6 separate regions of the Homo sapiens genome follow, and all the other regions are linked to region 1. The links are contacts of gene promoters, found by promoter capture Hi-C in blood cells and fetal thymus (Javierre and others, 2016). All regions are on one chromosome and are shown on one strand. The core of a region is centred on a gene start or on the middle of the fragment in contact, and the rest is flanking DNA. Distances in the headings are between cores, read along the strand shown.

The links. The method cuts DNA at HindIII sites, captures the fragments that hold promoters and counts their contacts. A CHiCAGO score of 5 or more calls a contact.
Region 2: a fragment that was not itself captured here is called in contact with the fragment with the promoter of CCNA1 in region 1 in 2 of 17 cell types (naive B cells and M1 macrophages); the score reaches 5.5 in naive B cells.
Region 3: a fragment that was not itself captured here is called in contact with the fragment with the promoter of CCNA1 in region 1 in 4 of 17 cell types (M2 macrophages, M1 macrophages, M0 macrophages and 1 more); the score reaches 10.0 in M2 macrophages.
Region 4: a fragment that was not itself captured here is called in contact with the fragment with the promoter of CCNA1 in region 1 in 1 of 17 cell types (M0 macrophages); the score reaches 5.4 in M0 macrophages.
Region 5: a contact is called between a fragment that was not itself captured here and the fragment with the promoter of CCNA1 in region 1, in 5 of 17 cell types (M0 macrophages, monocytes, M2 macrophages and 2 more). The highest score is 8.5, in M0 macrophages.
Region 6: a fragment that was not itself captured here is called in contact with the fragment with the promoter of CCNA1 in region 1 in 3 of 17 cell types (M0 macrophages, M2 macrophages and M1 macrophages); the score reaches 6.4 in M0 macrophages.

Annotation. Positions count from the first base shown.
Region 1 is chr13:36,431,228-36,433,785 of GRCh38, forward strand. It overlaps CCNA1 (cyclin A1), which reads left to right and starts at 1,268. Exons shown (of 9, transcript NM_001413923.1): 1 at 1,268-1,502; 2 at 1,806-1,994. The coding sequence starts at 1,830. RefSeq lists silencers at 572-641, 922-971, 1,002-1,161. The HindIII fragment of the contact is 15,627 bases long and covers 1-2,558 here.
Region 2 is chr13:36,914,328-36,916,885 of GRCh38, forward strand. All of the region lies in intron 1 of SMAD9 (SMAD family member 9), which reads right to left. Among named protein-coding and RNA genes, the nearest start is that of SMAD9, 4.6 kb to the right of the region's middle. The HindIII fragment of the contact is 1,499 bases long and covers 542-2,040 here.
Region 3 is chr13:35,976,941-35,979,498 of GRCh38, forward strand. The region is part of intron 3 of DCLK1 (doublecortin like kinase 1); the gene reads right to left. Among named protein-coding and RNA genes, the nearest start is that of DCLK1, 150 kb to the right of the region's middle. The HindIII fragment of the contact is 2,372 bases long and covers 103-2,474 here.
Region 4 is chr13:36,793,248-36,795,805 of GRCh38, forward strand. It overlaps the pseudogene ARL2BPP3. Among named protein-coding and RNA genes, the nearest start is that of RFXAP, 25 kb to the right of the region's middle. The HindIII fragment of the contact is 9,289 bases long and covers 1-2,558 here.
Region 5 is chr13:36,712,184-36,714,741 of GRCh38, forward strand. All of the region lies in intron 3 of LOC102723490 (a long non-coding RNA gene), which reads right to left. Among named protein-coding and RNA genes, the nearest start is that of SERTM1, 39 kb to the left of the region's middle. The HindIII fragment of the contact is 7,545 bases long and covers 1-2,558 here.
Region 6 is chr13:36,690,295-36,692,852 of GRCh38, forward strand. The region is part of intron 1 of SERTM1 (serine rich and transmembrane domain containing 1); the gene reads left to right. The region is part of intron 6 of LOC102723490 (a long non-coding RNA gene); the gene reads right to left. Among named protein-coding and RNA genes, the nearest start is that of SERTM1, 18 kb to the left of the region's middle. The HindIII fragment of the contact is 1,588 bases long and covers 501-2,088 here.

The sequences.
Region 1 (2,558 bases), core at 18-2,517:
TTTTAAAAAAAGCAAAAGTAGTAACAGACTATAGCATTGGTAATGTGTGTGTGCATATATACATATTATTTTTAAAAAAATAAAGTTCGATTATTTCACCTGGCTTGTCAGTCACCTATGCAGGCGTCTGAGCCCCCGGGTTTCCAGGAGCCCCCCGTATAAGGACCCCAGGGACTCCTCTCCCCACGCGGCCGGGCCGCCCGCCCGGCCCCCAGCCCGGAGAGCTGCCACCGACCCCCTCAACGTCCCAAGCCCCAGCTCTGTCGCCCGCGTTCCTTCCTCTTCCTGGGCCACAATCTTGGCTTTCCCGGGCCGGCTTCACGCAGTTGCGCAGGAGCCCGCGGGGGAAGACCTCTCGTGGGGACCTCGAGCACGACGTGCGACCCTAAATCCCCACATCTCCTCTGCCGCCTCGCAGGCCACATGCACCGGGAGCCGGGCGGGGCAGGCGCGGCCCGCAAGGACCCCCGCGATGGAGACGCAACACTGCCGCGACTGCACTTGGGGCAGCCCCGCCGCGTCCCAGCCGCCTCCCGGCAGGAAGCGTAGGTGTGTGAGCCGACCCGGAGCGAGCCGCGCCCTCGGGCCAGCGTGGGCAGGGCGCCGCAGCCTGCGCAGCCCCGAGGACCCCGCGTCGCTCTCCCGAGCCAGGGTTCTCAGGAGCGGGCCGCGCAGGAGACGTTAGAGGGGGTTGTTAGCGGCTGTTGGGAGAACGGGTCACGGAAACAGTCCCTTCCAAAGCCGGGGCCATCGTGGGGTGGGCGAGTCCGCCCTCCCAGGCCGGGGGCGCGGACCAGAGGGGACGTGTGCAGACGGCCGCGGTCAGCCCCACCTCGCCCGGGCGGAGACGCACAGCTGGAGCTGGAGGGCCGTCGCCCGTTGGGCCCTCAGGGGCCTGAACGCCCAGGGGTCGCGGCGAGTCCACCCGGAGCGAGTCAGGTGAGCAGGTCGCCATGGCGATGCGGCCCCGGAGAGCGCACGCCTGCCGCGGTCGGCATGGAAACGCTCCCGCTAGGTCCGGGGGCGCCGCTGATTGGCCGATTCAACAGACGCGGGTGGGCAGCTCAGCCGCATCGCTAAGCCCGGCCGCCTCCCAGGCTGGAATCCCTCGACACTTGGTCCTTCCCGCCCCGCCCTTCCGTGCCCTGCCCTTCCCTGCCCTTCCCCGCCCTGCCCCGCCCGGCCCGGCCCGGCCCTGCCCAACCCTGCCCCGCCCTGCCCCGCCCAGCCGGCCACCTCTTAACCGCGATCCTCCAGTGCACTTGCCAGTTGTTCCGGACACATAGAAAGATAACGACGGGAAGAGCGGGGCCCGCTTTGGGGTCCAGGCAGGTTTTGGGGCCTCCTGTCTGGTGGGAGGAGGCCGCAGCGCAGCACCCTGCTCGTCACTTGGGATGGAGACCGGCTTTCCCGCAATCATGTACCCTGGATCTTTTATTGGGGGCTGGGGAGAAGAGTATCTCAGCTGGGAAGGACCGGGGCTCCCAGATTTCGTCTTCCAGGTAACGTGGGTTTAGTATCCCGACTTGGAGGCTTGTCAGAATGTTTCTCTCCTTCCAGCCCAACACGAAGTCTTGGGATAAAAAGCCTCCCTCAGGGATTCAAATAACTGTTTTGATTCAGAGCAACTTTGATCGCCTGTGCGGTCGCACCTGCCCTTTCAGCCCCAATAATTACTGGGAAGATCAGCAATTGGTGTTAGTCCCATTGCTTGGTGCTCTCCCTCCTAGAGGTTCGCTGTGTCCTTGGAGCCCGGGGTGGACGGAATCGACTAAACAGCTTGTCTGTTTCTCTTTCCCTGGTAGCAGCAGCCCGTGGAGTCTGAAGCAATGCACTGCAGCAACCCCAAGAGTGGAGTTGTGCTGGCTACAGTGGCCCGAGGTCCCGATGCTTGTCAGATACTCACCAGAGCCCCGCTGGGCCAGGATCCCCCGCAGAGGACAGTGCTAGGGCTGCTAACTGCAAATGGGCAGTACAGGAGGACCTGTGGCCAGGTAATGACTCAGACGCATTGAGAATGATGCTTGTGGAGAACAGCTCTCCTGCTTTGGTGCCAGGTGCTTTTCTCTTGCCCTTGTACCTACAACTCCCCCTGAGTATTACAACCCTGGAATCTGGACTACAGGAAAGTTGATTGATTTATTTTCTTTCTTTCTTTCTTTCTTTCTTTCTTTCTTTCTTTCTTTCTTTCTTTCTTTCTTTCTTTCTTTCTTTCGTTCTTTCTTTCTTTCTTTTCTTTCTCTTTCTTTCCTTCTTTCTTTTTCTTTGTTTCTCTTCCTTCTTCCTTTCCTTTTTTTTTCTTTCCTTTCCTTTCCTTCTTTTTTTTTTTTTGAGACGGAGTTTCGCTCTTGTCGCCAGGCTGGAGTGCAGTGACGCGATCTCGGCTCACTGCAACCTCCACCTCCCGGGTTCAAGCGATTCTCCTGCCTCAGCCTCCCGAGTAGCTGGGATTTCAGGCACCCACCACCACGCCCGGCTAATTTTTGTGTTTTTAGTAGAGATGGGATTTCACCATGTTGGCCAGGCTGGTCACCAACTCCTGACCTCAGGTGACCCGC
Region 2 (2,558 bases), core at 41-2,540, 480 kb after region 1:
GCTAACATGGTGAAACCCTGTCTCTACTAAAAATACAAAAAATTAGCCGGGCGTGGTGGCAGGTGCCTGTAGTCCCAGCTACTTGGGAGGCTGAAGCGGGAGAATGGCATGAACCCGGGAGGTGGAGCTTGCAGTGAGCCGAGATGGTGCCACTGCACTCCAGCCTGGGCGACAGAGAGAGACTCCATCTCAAAAAACAAAAACAAAACAAAAAAAAACTTACTCTTCCTTCTTCCTTCCTCACTCCTCCTCTCAGCCAAACTCCAATTCTCTCACTGTGATTCTCAGCAAAGAAAGGAGCAAGATGAATTCATGAACTTATGATGAAGTGTACTGATAAGAGATGTCAAATATTCTGCCACAAAGTGGGAAACTGATGGAATCTGTGAATCCCTTTCTGCGTTACCATTAACTCCTGAAATGTGGTACTACCAAGTCAGTTAAATTTAGATACAAGAATTCAGAAAGCAACTCCTGGCACTTCAGTTGAACGCTACCATCCATCAAATGCTTCTTAAAAAAGACCTGCAAATCTGCTGTAAGCTTTCCATAGCCCACAAGTACGTAGGACAAAATCCTTTAGAATGACATTAACCATTGCACAATTATTGCGTTTTGTGAAAACAAATCAAAATACACAGTAACCAAAGTAAATCTGTATTTGATAGGCTTCTAAGCACTTTAACAGATGAAAAGTAAAAAACAGGCTGTATGGAAGAAGATATTCCATAGATTAAAGCAGTCATTTAAGGCAAATGGCCCAGTGTATCTAGGGATGTGCTCCTGGGGTCAGTGAGTTCAGGATGTGGCTACCTCACAGTGTTCACACTTCTACTACTTGCAAACTCTAAGTCGTCAGAATCCTCAACTCAGAATCCCCAATGTCACCAACACGTTTGAATGGCCGCAAGACCACATGTATGCTATCCAGATTCCTTTGTTCAGTGATAGAAAACTGGCAACTGGAGTCCTAGAATGAATGGGCATCCCTGGCACTCCTAGTGCTTGTAAACTGAAGATTGCTTTTCGCAACTGCAGCACCAAACTCTCCTCGGGACTGAGGAGTACATGTTTTCTATTTATAGTCCCTCAGAATTAAATATGAAAAAGAAAAGGAAGTGATCAGATATTAAGTATTAAATTTCCCCAAGGGGAAATTCACATAAAAATAATCCCCACCAGTGAATCAGCTAATCAGAGTACCAAAGAATGAGACAAAGAGAGAGAGAGAGAGAGAAGATTTTGATATTTAATATCTAAAAAAGAGGAATTGGAAATTGTCATTATAGGAAAAAATCAGAACTACATAGGTCTCCTTTACAATTATTCTTTGGGTTAAACTTTTTTCTTTGAATTAAATGTGGGCTGGGAATGAGGGGGAAGAACCATAATCTCTTCAGTGCTTATGACTTCTAAAGTGTTACAACCGTGTGCACACACATATACAATCCACCTTAATATTTATGCCTTTTATTTTAAATTCTGAATTTAAATTTTATATTGGGAGTCGTTTTGATTCTTGAAAAATGCGTTTTGAGCTGATTAGAGCTTCCCAATTAAAACGGTACAACTGAATATATTATATGGGCATGACATTTATAAGCAAATTCTATTTTTTCACATCATATTAACTTTAATACTGGATTGTTACACAGAACATGATATATTTTAAAATGAGAGTTAGTATTGTTCGATAATAGAATGACCAAGGCACAGAAGGCAGATTCTGCCTGACGAGGCTGATAACAAGACCCTTTACACATCCAACGTGAACAAAGCAGCAGCTCATCTCAGTAGCAGTCTGCTTTTCTTTTGTGAGCATAGTTTGAAACACATACATTAAAAACAGTATCAATTTTTATGCGGCTATGGTGGGGGGAGGAATCAGCATATCGTGTTAGCAATTTTCTGTGGAATCACATTAGTGTTTCATTGTGGTAGCCGTATCACATTAAAATCTGTTTTTCTACTAAATGGCTTCCATTGTGTATTTAGTGAATCTGATATGGAAAACTGCTAATGCAATAAGAGTATCATAGAAGCTTTTCCTGACTGTAATGCTCAGCCACAATGTTCAGGAGAAGGAGGCTCTCAACTGGGCTGAGGGGATTTCAGGCCTCTGAACTAGTCCTCAGCTCAGATTCAACACCAGCTTCTTGAAAGATGGACTTTATCCTATGGGTGAAATGCTTTTACAGACTTTATTTCAGGAGGGACCATGGGTTCAGTGAAAAAATGTGTCATGTATTTGTTATTTATTGATAGAGTACTATAAAGGGCACTGTGGTCAGCATTCAGAGAATAAAAAAGGTAGATGAAACAGTCCCTTCCTTCCTGGATCTTGTAAGGATGGTCTGAGGGGAAGAAATAAATTAGTCTATGAGTAACTTAATACAAAACAGGTAAGAGTTGAAAAGGCGAAGAGCCACAGGAGCTCGAAGGAGGACATACCTGGGACCAGGGTCATCACAGAAAGTCCCGTGAAGGCAGCGCCTGAACAGGGCATACAAGATGAAGAAGTCATATTTGAGGATCCTGTGGGAGGTGGGGAAGCTGGG
Region 3 (2,558 bases), core at 39-2,538, 450 kb before region 1:
CCTCAAAGAATTAACAAAGCCTCAGGAAGGATATAGAGAGCTTAAGCCTTAGTGGAATCTGGATTATATTATTTAAGGAATTAAATCAGAAATAATTCAAAAAGCTTCATTTGTGAAACTTGCATCCACTCCAGATGTTAAGAAATGACAAAAATAAAATGCTGTATTTTTCGTGTATGTGTGTGTGTATATATATACAGAGAGAGAAAGATAAATTCAAATTTTATCAACTGTTCCAAATATATAAGTTACTTCATGCATATCAGGAAGCTGAATACAGAACTATGAGCCTCATAAATGCCAGCTGATTATGTTCCCAACTCAGAGTGTCTGGGCAGATTGGGCAAGTTTTCCCCCTGAGCAATCTGCTGTCTGCATTTCTGCGCTCCTTCCTTGGGGTGGGCAGGAGGGAAGGGTATGTCAGCCACTCCCAGCTCACCCCAAATAAGTGGCCTGAGGGCAAGCAAAGGATTGGTGAGTCCAAGGACTCTTTCTGAGGAGGTATATTTTGGTGAATGACTATCACGAAGCCCTTTTGACTTAAGCACATGGTTCTCCATTGCCCCAATATTAGGTATTTGCTAATTAAAGTACAGAAATGCACACATTTAATACTGGTCATCAGGTGTATTCTGATGGGTCTAATGGGCTATTTTTTTTTTAATTCCACACAATACCTTGAATAATGAATGAGGAAATTACCTACAAGACCAGATCACAGCCAGAGATGAATGTTGGCAGTGACATGAAGAAGGCTGAGAACAAATGATTAGGTTTAGAAAATCCCAGCTCATCAACTCTGGTCTGCTCTTCAGTACCTAAGAATGGTGTCATACACCCAAGAACAGCTCCATGTTCAAGCACTAACTCCAGGCCCAGATGTTGTCTCGGTGGCATAGCAAATAATGGAAAGTTGCTCATTTCTTTCCCCATGAAGAAAGTCAAGGTTCGGAAGCCATCATAAGTTAATAGGACTAACGTTCTCTACACAGTGGGCACAATTACATTGTCAACAAGAGCTCTGTGAGTATTCAAATGTCAGCTTTCTTTACAGACTGGGTAGATAATAAGCAGAATGTCATTGTCCCTGAAAGAAATATTAAGGAAGTATTACTAACGATCCATTACAAATTGGTGTCAATTTCAAATATGTCACTGTGTTGACAGGATATAAATAATACATGAAGAAAACACTTGCACATTAAGAATCGATTTTCTGCTTTGTGCAATTTAGAGTTCCAGTTTTTTTTTTCTTTTCTTTTCTTTTTTTTTTTTTTTTTTTTTTTGACGGAGTCTCACTCTGTCACCCAGCTGGAGTGCAGTAGTACGATCTCGGCTCATTGCAACCTCTGCCTCTTGGGTTTAAGCTATTCTCCTGCCTCAGCCTCCCAAGTAGCTGGAATTACAGGCACGCGACATCACGCCCGGCTAATTTTTGTATTTTTAGTAGAGATGGAGTTTCACCATGTTGCCCAGGCTGGTCTCAAATTCCTGGGCTCAAGTGATCCACCCACCTTGGCCTCCCAAAGTGCTGGGATTACCGGCGTGAGCCACCGTGCCCGGTCTAGAATTCCAGTTTTTCATTCAATAAGTCTACAATGTAGTACTCTTATAATATTCTTTCCATTCTCACTCAATACTAGATTACAATTAAGAGAGGAAAACTCAGAAATCATACACAGCAGAATAATTTGCTATTTTACCAATGAAATAGAATTTGAACACTCTCAAACAACCAACATGTAATATCACAATTCGCCACTTGGTGTCACTAGACCTCCAGGAAACTCAAATTTACACTTACCCTGACAAGAGATTACGTTAGATTTCCACACCTTTTTTTCTGTAAGGCCCCATTTCACACAAAGATATTACAAAATGACAACGGCATGAATTATCGGAATGATGGAACTATCTTCTAAAAGGGTAGTAAACTCAGGTTAACTCCCAAACAGAATACACACCTATTACCTTACTAGTAAGAGTAATAACCACCAATTATTGAGCACCAGCCACAGTGCTAAGTGCTCTACCTATATTGTCTTATCTAATCCTGAAAACACGATCTTCCTTTAATGGTAGTTGTCTTTATTTTTAAAATGAGAAACCTGAGCTCTGCAGAGGTTAATAACTTGCCAAGCTGTTCCCAGTACCCAATCTCACATACAGATCTCTGCTAAGCCATGAGGCCACAAAACAGAAGCTATGTTTTTGGTCTGGAGAAATATTCTCCACCTGGAAGACAACCCTTACCCACAAAAAGGCAGTAGCCCAAGGGCTGTCAACGAAGTGCCAAGCGACTTTCCAATGACTATTAAAAGTAAAAGAATACAGCCCGGGATTCAGAAGACCCGGCCGGGGAAGGACTAATCAATGAGGTTTCATGGAAGACAAGGGATGTCAGCTGATCTCTGCATGGGGTTCAGAACTGAGACAGCCAGAAAGAGGACATGTGAATGGGGTGAGGCGCAGAAAGCTTCTAAACAGCCACTGCCATTGCTTGGCAAATGCATGACAGCCAATCCATAAACAATATTGTCCCAGAGCTATCCTTTCCC
Region 4 (2,558 bases), core at 23-2,522, 360 kb after region 1:
TATTGAAATCAATTGCATAGTGCAAATAACTTTGATTATGAGTGGGCAAAAGTAACCTGAATAATCATAAGACTTTAATATTTGCATCTATAAAGTGTTCAAGGACAGAAAAATTATGTAGAAAAGATTATTTTCAAAATTGCTAACAATGAATACAAAAAATTTGTCAATATTTGAAACCCTAAAATTAATTAAAGAGAAAAAAATTTCCTTTTCCAACATCATTGCTTATTTAACAGATGGAGCACCAATAATGTAAGTTTAGAGCCAACTTTAAAAAGAGGTACCGGGTGTTTTAACAAGTCATTTTATTATTCATCAACAACCTAATTACCAAGTCTCAGAGAACAAGATAATCATCAATGAATGTTTAAAAATAATCCCTTCACTGACAGATTATTCATAATCTTTCAAATGTCATTTAAGTGTTTGAATGTCATGTCCAAATAAGATGGTTCACCAAGCAAATATTTTTAAAAGGTTTGGCTCACATTATGGACCTTTATGGATCTTTGACATGATCAATAAAAATATATATATAATTGGAAATACTGCAAATTGATGAGATATAGCCTTCAAGCATATTTGAAAAGGTCTTCCTTATTCAAATTATAATTTTTAATTTATATTTTGTATATTAATATATTTATTTTTAAATATACAGAAAAGTTGAAAGACTAGGACATGCTTGTCCAACTCACAGCCCATGGGTCACATGTGGACCAGGACAGCTTTGAATGAAGCCCAACCCAAATTCATAAACTTTCTTAAAGTATTATGAGTTTTTTTGTGATTCTCTTTTTAACTCATCTGCTATAGTTAGTGTTAGTGTATTTTACATGTGGCCCGAGACAGTTCTTCTTCCAGTGTGGCCCAGGGAAGCCAAAAGATTGGACACTCTTGGATTAGAGCAAGGAACACCCATATGCCTGCCACCTACATTCAGCAATTGCAAGTATTTTGCTGTAATTGCTTCCTATATGTTTGTATATTTGACTAAAACATTTCAAAGTAAAATACAGTGACCATGCTATTTCACCTCTGAGTTCTTAATCATGAATCTCCTAAATATAAGGATATTCTCTTGCATAACCACAATGTTATTGCTATACCTTTAAAAATTTAGGAGTGGGCTGCAGCCTGGGCGACAAGGCTTCCCCCAGCTGACCTCTGTGCCCTAGAAACCGTAGGGACCCAATGGGTCAGCTCACTTGGGTGGGTGCGGTGGCACCAACCATGGGTGCTTTAGAAGAAGGCTTCATTGTGCCCTTCTCCTCTGACTCTGATGCACATTTTGATGCTGCGGTTGGATATTTAGAGGACATTATCATGGATGAAGATTTCCAGTTATTACAGAGAAATTTCATCAACAACTACTACCAGGAGTTTGAGGACACCAAAGAGAATAAACTCACCTACACACCTATTTTTAATGAATATATTTCTTTGGCAGGAAAGTATATAGAAGAACAGTATATAGAAGAAAGTATATAGAAGAACACACCTATTTTTAATGAATATATTTCTTTGGCAGGAAAGTATATAGAAGAACAGTTGCTGGAGCAAATTCTTGGCTTTACCATGGCAACTTTCACAACGTTACAGCACCACAAAGATGAAGTGGTTGGTGACATACTCCAAATGCTGCTCAAATTTACAGATTTTCTGGCTTTTAAAGAAATGTTTCTGGACTGCAGAGCAGAAAAAGAAGGCCAGAGACTGGACTTAAGCCGTGGTTTAGTGGAGACTTCATTGTGCAAATCATCTTCTATGACAGCTTCTCAGAACAATCTGCAGCAGTAGGACCTACCTCCAGACAATGAATGGTATCATTCTCAATTTCACGGGCTCAGTAGTTCAATAGGCTCGGCTCATGATGACAGGAGAACGTATCCTGGAAAAACTGATTCTGTTCTGCAACTCTTCATTCGCATTAAATATTGATGGGGTAAAAGCCAAAATGATCTAATCCTCCTGGACCTATTTATCCTGAAACATCTTGTTGGGTTTTTGTTTTTGTTTTTGTTTTGAGACAGGGTCTCGCTCTGTCGCCCAGGCTGTACTGCAGTGGCCCAATCTCGGCTCACTGCAGCTTCCACCTGCCTGGTTCAAATGATTCTCCTGTCTCAGCCTCCCAAGTAGCTAGAATTACAGGCACCCACCACCACGCCCAGCTAATTTTTTTGTATTTTTAGTAGAGACGGGGCTTCACCATGTTGGCCAGGCTGGTTTTGAACTCGTGACCTCAAGTGATCCGCCTGCCTCAGCCTCCCAAAGTGCTAGGATTACAGGTGTGAGCCAACACACCCACCCCTCCCCCGGCCGAATCACCTTCTTGTATTCATTAACCCTAATACTCCTCCCCTCCCCAAGTAGGTACCTCTCTCAGGTGCTTCTGACTCAGGCAGCTTGTGAGCAAGCCCATGTCAAGCATTCCACTCTGTGGGGGGCCTTTCCTCACCCCAGCATTCACGTTTGCGTATCAAAACCCACCATCATGAACCCTCTTTATCCCAGCAGGGTTTGCATAAATTTTTTGTGCACTTGCATCTCATTTT
Region 5 (2,558 bases), core at 37-2,536, 280 kb after region 1:
ATAAAATTTCTCCAGTGGGTCCAAGGCCTTGGGGCACCACCCCTCAATACTTCATATCTTACCACTCTCCTAACTTCCTTCAACACACCCACACCCATCTTTATATACACTGCTGTCTTTGTCTGGGACACCAATTCCTCCCTCATCCCTAATGCCTGGCTAGATCATACACATCCGTGCTTTTCACTGAGACATCAATTTCTCCAGGGAATCATCTGTGATATTTCCAGGCAGGGTATCTCCTACAGGTTTCCTATCACCTGCTGTTAATGGAAAATGCAGCACTCACCCCTGGAGTGATTCATCTGTCTCCCCTCCCGCATGGTACTCTGAGCTCCTGCAAGCAAGGCTGCAGGCTATCTCGCAGCCCAGTGTGAAGCACATGAAACCCCCTCAATAAAAAGTCCACACATGAATGAGTGATAACCTAAGAAAAATAGAAGTAAAATTTCCTCATGTGCATCAGTGTTTCCATAAGGAATCCATTTAAATTAACAAAAGAATTTTCACTTTTAAATGTTTGTCTATAAGCTACACAATGTCCCATAAAACAAATGAAAACAGAAAAAAAAAATCTTAGTTTAAATGTTTTTTCCAAGTCATGTACTGCGTAAAGCTCAGCACAGCCTCTTTCAGTGTTTGCAGGTCCCGATCTCTGGCTGCCCCAGGCTTTGGACCCGTTCCTTTCAGCTTCTTGTGAGGCAGGAGTGGGAGTACTGTGCTCTCCACCCCATGCCCTTACTGTGGACTGTGCAGCCCCCAGCTGTTACTAATTCTCTTCTGGAACCACTTTCTCCTTGTTGAAGGAGCCCCTATGACTCAGCAGCCTGTAAATGAGTTAGACCTTTTTGCTCAAAGCAGACTGAACACAATGAACCACCGCATACTACGTGGCAATTAAATTAGAGAAACATTGAACAGATCTCTGCATAGTCAGAAGGTACCTGCTTATAAACTGCAAGTAGCTAGAATCTTTTTTCTCAAGGCAAGATCACAATTCAACCATGCTCAGCCACGTTGTCATAGTGAATGCTAAACTACAAGTAATTTCTAGTGAAGGAAGCATGTTATTAGTCCTCGGTGCTCCAGTTTCCCCCCACAGAATAAAGATGTATTTTATCAAAAATAACTTATACCTTGGCATCCAGTGTAATGCAAATTTGATAAAAATATAAAACTCTGTTAAAATTAGAGACATGAGGACACCAAAACTTATTCTTCCTGTTTAACTGTAACTTTGTACCCATTGACCAAACTCTTCTGGTTCCCTCCCTCCACCCTCCCCAGCCTCTGTTAACCACTATAGCAAATAACAATGCAGTGAATATTTTAAGATAGCTAGAAGAAATGAGAAATGTTTAAAGTGGCGGATATGGTAATTACCCCAATTTGATCATTATATTATGCATACACACGTCAAAATATCACATTGTATCCTGTAAATATGTACAATTATTGTATCCATTATACATTTTTAAAATTAAGCAAAAGTAAAAGACCAAGAACATGAAATCCTTTAGCTCACACAATATGCAGACTGAGAACTTTGGTGAATTTTAGAAGTGCAGGTTTCAGATTGTGCCCTGAATGTGCTAATACAGGGTGTATACATGATCTGTTCCTAATGTGTATGAAGACGGACTTTTTGTAAATAGCTTAATGAATATTTATTGTAATCACAGTATAGAGTTTATCCTAAATTTTTACTTCTTTGCACCTCGTTAGAGACTGAATACAGAAACTGAAAGATTAGCAGCTTCAAAGAATTTTAAATACATATCTGGAATGTCTGCTATTATAGGTCCTGTAGTTCTATAGGTTCTGTGATTCACTAACAATTACTCAGCATTGAGTATTAGGAAAGCACAGACTCTGTCCTCAGGTTACTCACAGTCTGGTTGGGGGCAGAAGGAGAAGTAGAAAAGAAAAAGAAGAAGAAACAAACATGTGCAGGATGTCTGCTGTGTGTCAGGCACTATATGAGATGATATATACATTTCACTGAATCTCCACGAAAATCCCATGTGGTTTGGATTATTATCTCTCTCTTCCAGAGAAAGAAACAGAGGTTCAGAGGGATACATTCCCCAAGATCACACAGCTTGTAACTTGCTGCAGAGCAATGCGATAAGAGCTGCACTAGCCAGAGAAGGAGGTTGCCCATGTGATAAGTACAGTGAGAACAAATAGGAAAGTGAGAAGGGGCTTTGCTTTGTTGGACAGCATGAGTTTAAAGATTCTGGTTTTGACATCTAAGTTATTCCTGAGAAGATGTGCTTTAGACAGCTGGATAAATGGGTCTGGAGGTCAGAAGAGAGCCAAAGCTGAAGGCACGAATGAGATCCTTTGGGATTATGTACAAATCCAAAAGAAAAAAGGCTGAGGATTGAACTCTGTGGCTTTTAAGAAAACAGTACTTAAGCGGTACATAGGCTGGACATGATGGCTCACACCTGTAATCCCTGCATTTTGGAAGGCCAAGGCAGGGGGATCACTTCAGGCCAGGAATTGGATACCAGCCTGGGGGCAACATTGCAAGACGTCCTTACAGAAAAATA
Region 6 (2,558 bases), core at 45-2,544, 260 kb after region 1:
CAAAACTCTACTCTCCCAAAGCATTGTACTGATAAGTAAAGGCGGTTCTCAAATAGGCAACTCTATGGATGGCTGAGTCAGCTTTGAGTAAGGGTAGCACGTAAGATAGTAAACTTTATTTCTATTACTGCAAGGCCCAGGGGTAAATGTTTGCCTTTGAATGCAAGTGAAGATTTACATTTAGAGAAGGGTGGTGGGAAGTGTGTATTGTCAGCAGTAATCTTCTCTCAGCTAGCATGACCTAAAAGGCCACTAAGGAGAGAGAAAGCATTAAAAGAGAAGATAATCATGCAAAGGGTAAAGGAATGGCTGCAAGGTCTTATATAAAACATGCATTTTCTAAATAGAATGAAAAACAGCTTTGCTCAGATATGATAAGTTCCCTTCTGGATTCTGGAAATATTCATTTTTAGGTGTTCTACAGAGGAAAAGATCTAATACATCATCTAAAACCATTAATTCCATTCAACTATCAAATCTTCCTTTTGTGTACTGGAAAAAGCTTTTTATTATGTTGTGTTAATACTTTGTGGCCACTTTCCTCATGGTTTTGAGAGGATCACCTTTTGGAGTATGACAGCAGAACCTGATAATGATGGAACATTGATATGGCATCTAACAGCCAGGCCACTCTTTAAATATAAAGTCCGCAAGGGAACAAAGCAGCTTGTCCCAGTTTTCCACAACAACAACAAAAACCTTTCAAATAGTCGTTATTCACATAGAAATGTATTTGAATAAAGGTCATGAAATTTAAAATTGCTGTGCCATATTTGAGGCTGACTGGTAGCCTGAGTTTTACAAACTATTGTGTCATAGAAGTCAAGGATGTGGCGCAGGCTGGGCCCATGCGCTGACTGCCATGGGTCCTGCAATGCTTATGTGAGAGCACTCAGAGATGAGAGCTGGTCAACTCTTCTTCATTTATGGAGAATGAAGGTACGTGCTAGAGAGTATGTTTTTCTTCTTCCCAAACATTATAGTCCTCATAATCCTTCCGTGGGAAGGAAGTTCTTTAAAAGGGGTCCCAGGGCTGTGGTGCTAAATGACTGGGAACCAGAGACCCCAGGTGTGCGCTGTCTTACGTTGTCTCTCTGTTTCCCCACCCCACTGGGCACATGGTGAGAGACTGCACATCCCTCCTTCCTCACTTCACTAGGGGACTGCTTTTTTGTAGATTTCTTCCCAGCCCAGGCTTTTATTACAAGAGACAAAGGGAAAGCTGGTTGACCATGAGCTAAAACATTTCCACAGGTCTTCCTTTATAATGTTGTGATCCAACTGTCTCATTTTCCTTTCTCAAAAATCACCTTCTGAGGACAGTGATTCTGAGCGGAAAAAAAGCATCAAAATCCCCATGTGGCTTTAGGTGTCACCTGAAATGAGAGTCTGCTGGCGCTGCCCCGAGACAGGTCAAGGCTATGCATTTAAGATGAAGTCTCTTTCTTCTTTTCCTCAAACCTTATCTGTTTGGGAGCAACAGCCCAAGAAGCATCATCTTGAAACACACTCATTTGATTTCATTTCCGCAGTGCAACCTCCAGCCTGTTTCCACACTGTCACAATGCCTAAACACATACAGGCTGGGTCACCCTGAGCATTATACAGCTACTGTTAAATAAAACCAAAGAGAAAGAAGATATTCCAGTTTTTAAAACTTCAATAAGGAAACGAGAATTAACATCCAAATTAAAATTCTTTCTAGCAGTGCACATACTCTGTTGTTTCAGAGTATGAAATGAAATTTGTGTAGCTGTGATTTTAAATTAAGAAGTACCCCGGAAATGGTATTAAATCAATAATATTTGGGGGGAATACTTAAGGAAGAAGATATTTAGTTGTGAAATGTCAAATAAGGACACAAGGTTTCATTTCCTTGTTTTCTCCTATTCTTCCAAGGCCACTTAAAAGATCAGATGCTTTGACCAAACCTTCTGAGCCTCATTTCCTATAAACTCTCCTGTCAACAGTTGAGGCTCATGGTGGGGTTTTGGTCTGAAAGAAGGCAATCTTCTGGAAGTAAAAACCTACTCTTAGAATATTTACCCTGTAAAATGATATTAACAAGAGGTCTGGTAGCCAGCTGTAAGCTTTACCAACTGAATTGCTGATACCAGAGTGACATTGCCTGTGCCTCCAGCACCATCCCTGAAAATGATACAGACTTGGGTAGCAGAGAAGGTAGCTTTAGAAAAATCAGCCAACTTCAGCTACACCTGTCGAAACTGTAGGACTAAGAGAGACCTTGAAAGTTCCTCTAGACTTTCTAGAAGGAACTTTCTATCTACTGGCACTTTACTTGGGATGGCCTTTTATGATTTTCTAAGTATGATTATGGAAAATGTTATCACATCTTAACTCAAGACCTTCTGGAGAAGTAGGAAAGGTAGGCATCACTGTTGTGCAAATGAGAAAAATAAAAGATCGGGACTAAACTGTGGGCTTGCCCAAAGTAAGTGGCAGATAGGAACTAATTATCCAAAGCATAATTTTTCTTTTCTTACCACAGTTGAGAAAACCAAGAACACAGTTCAGGCATGGATTCTAGTCACTTTTCT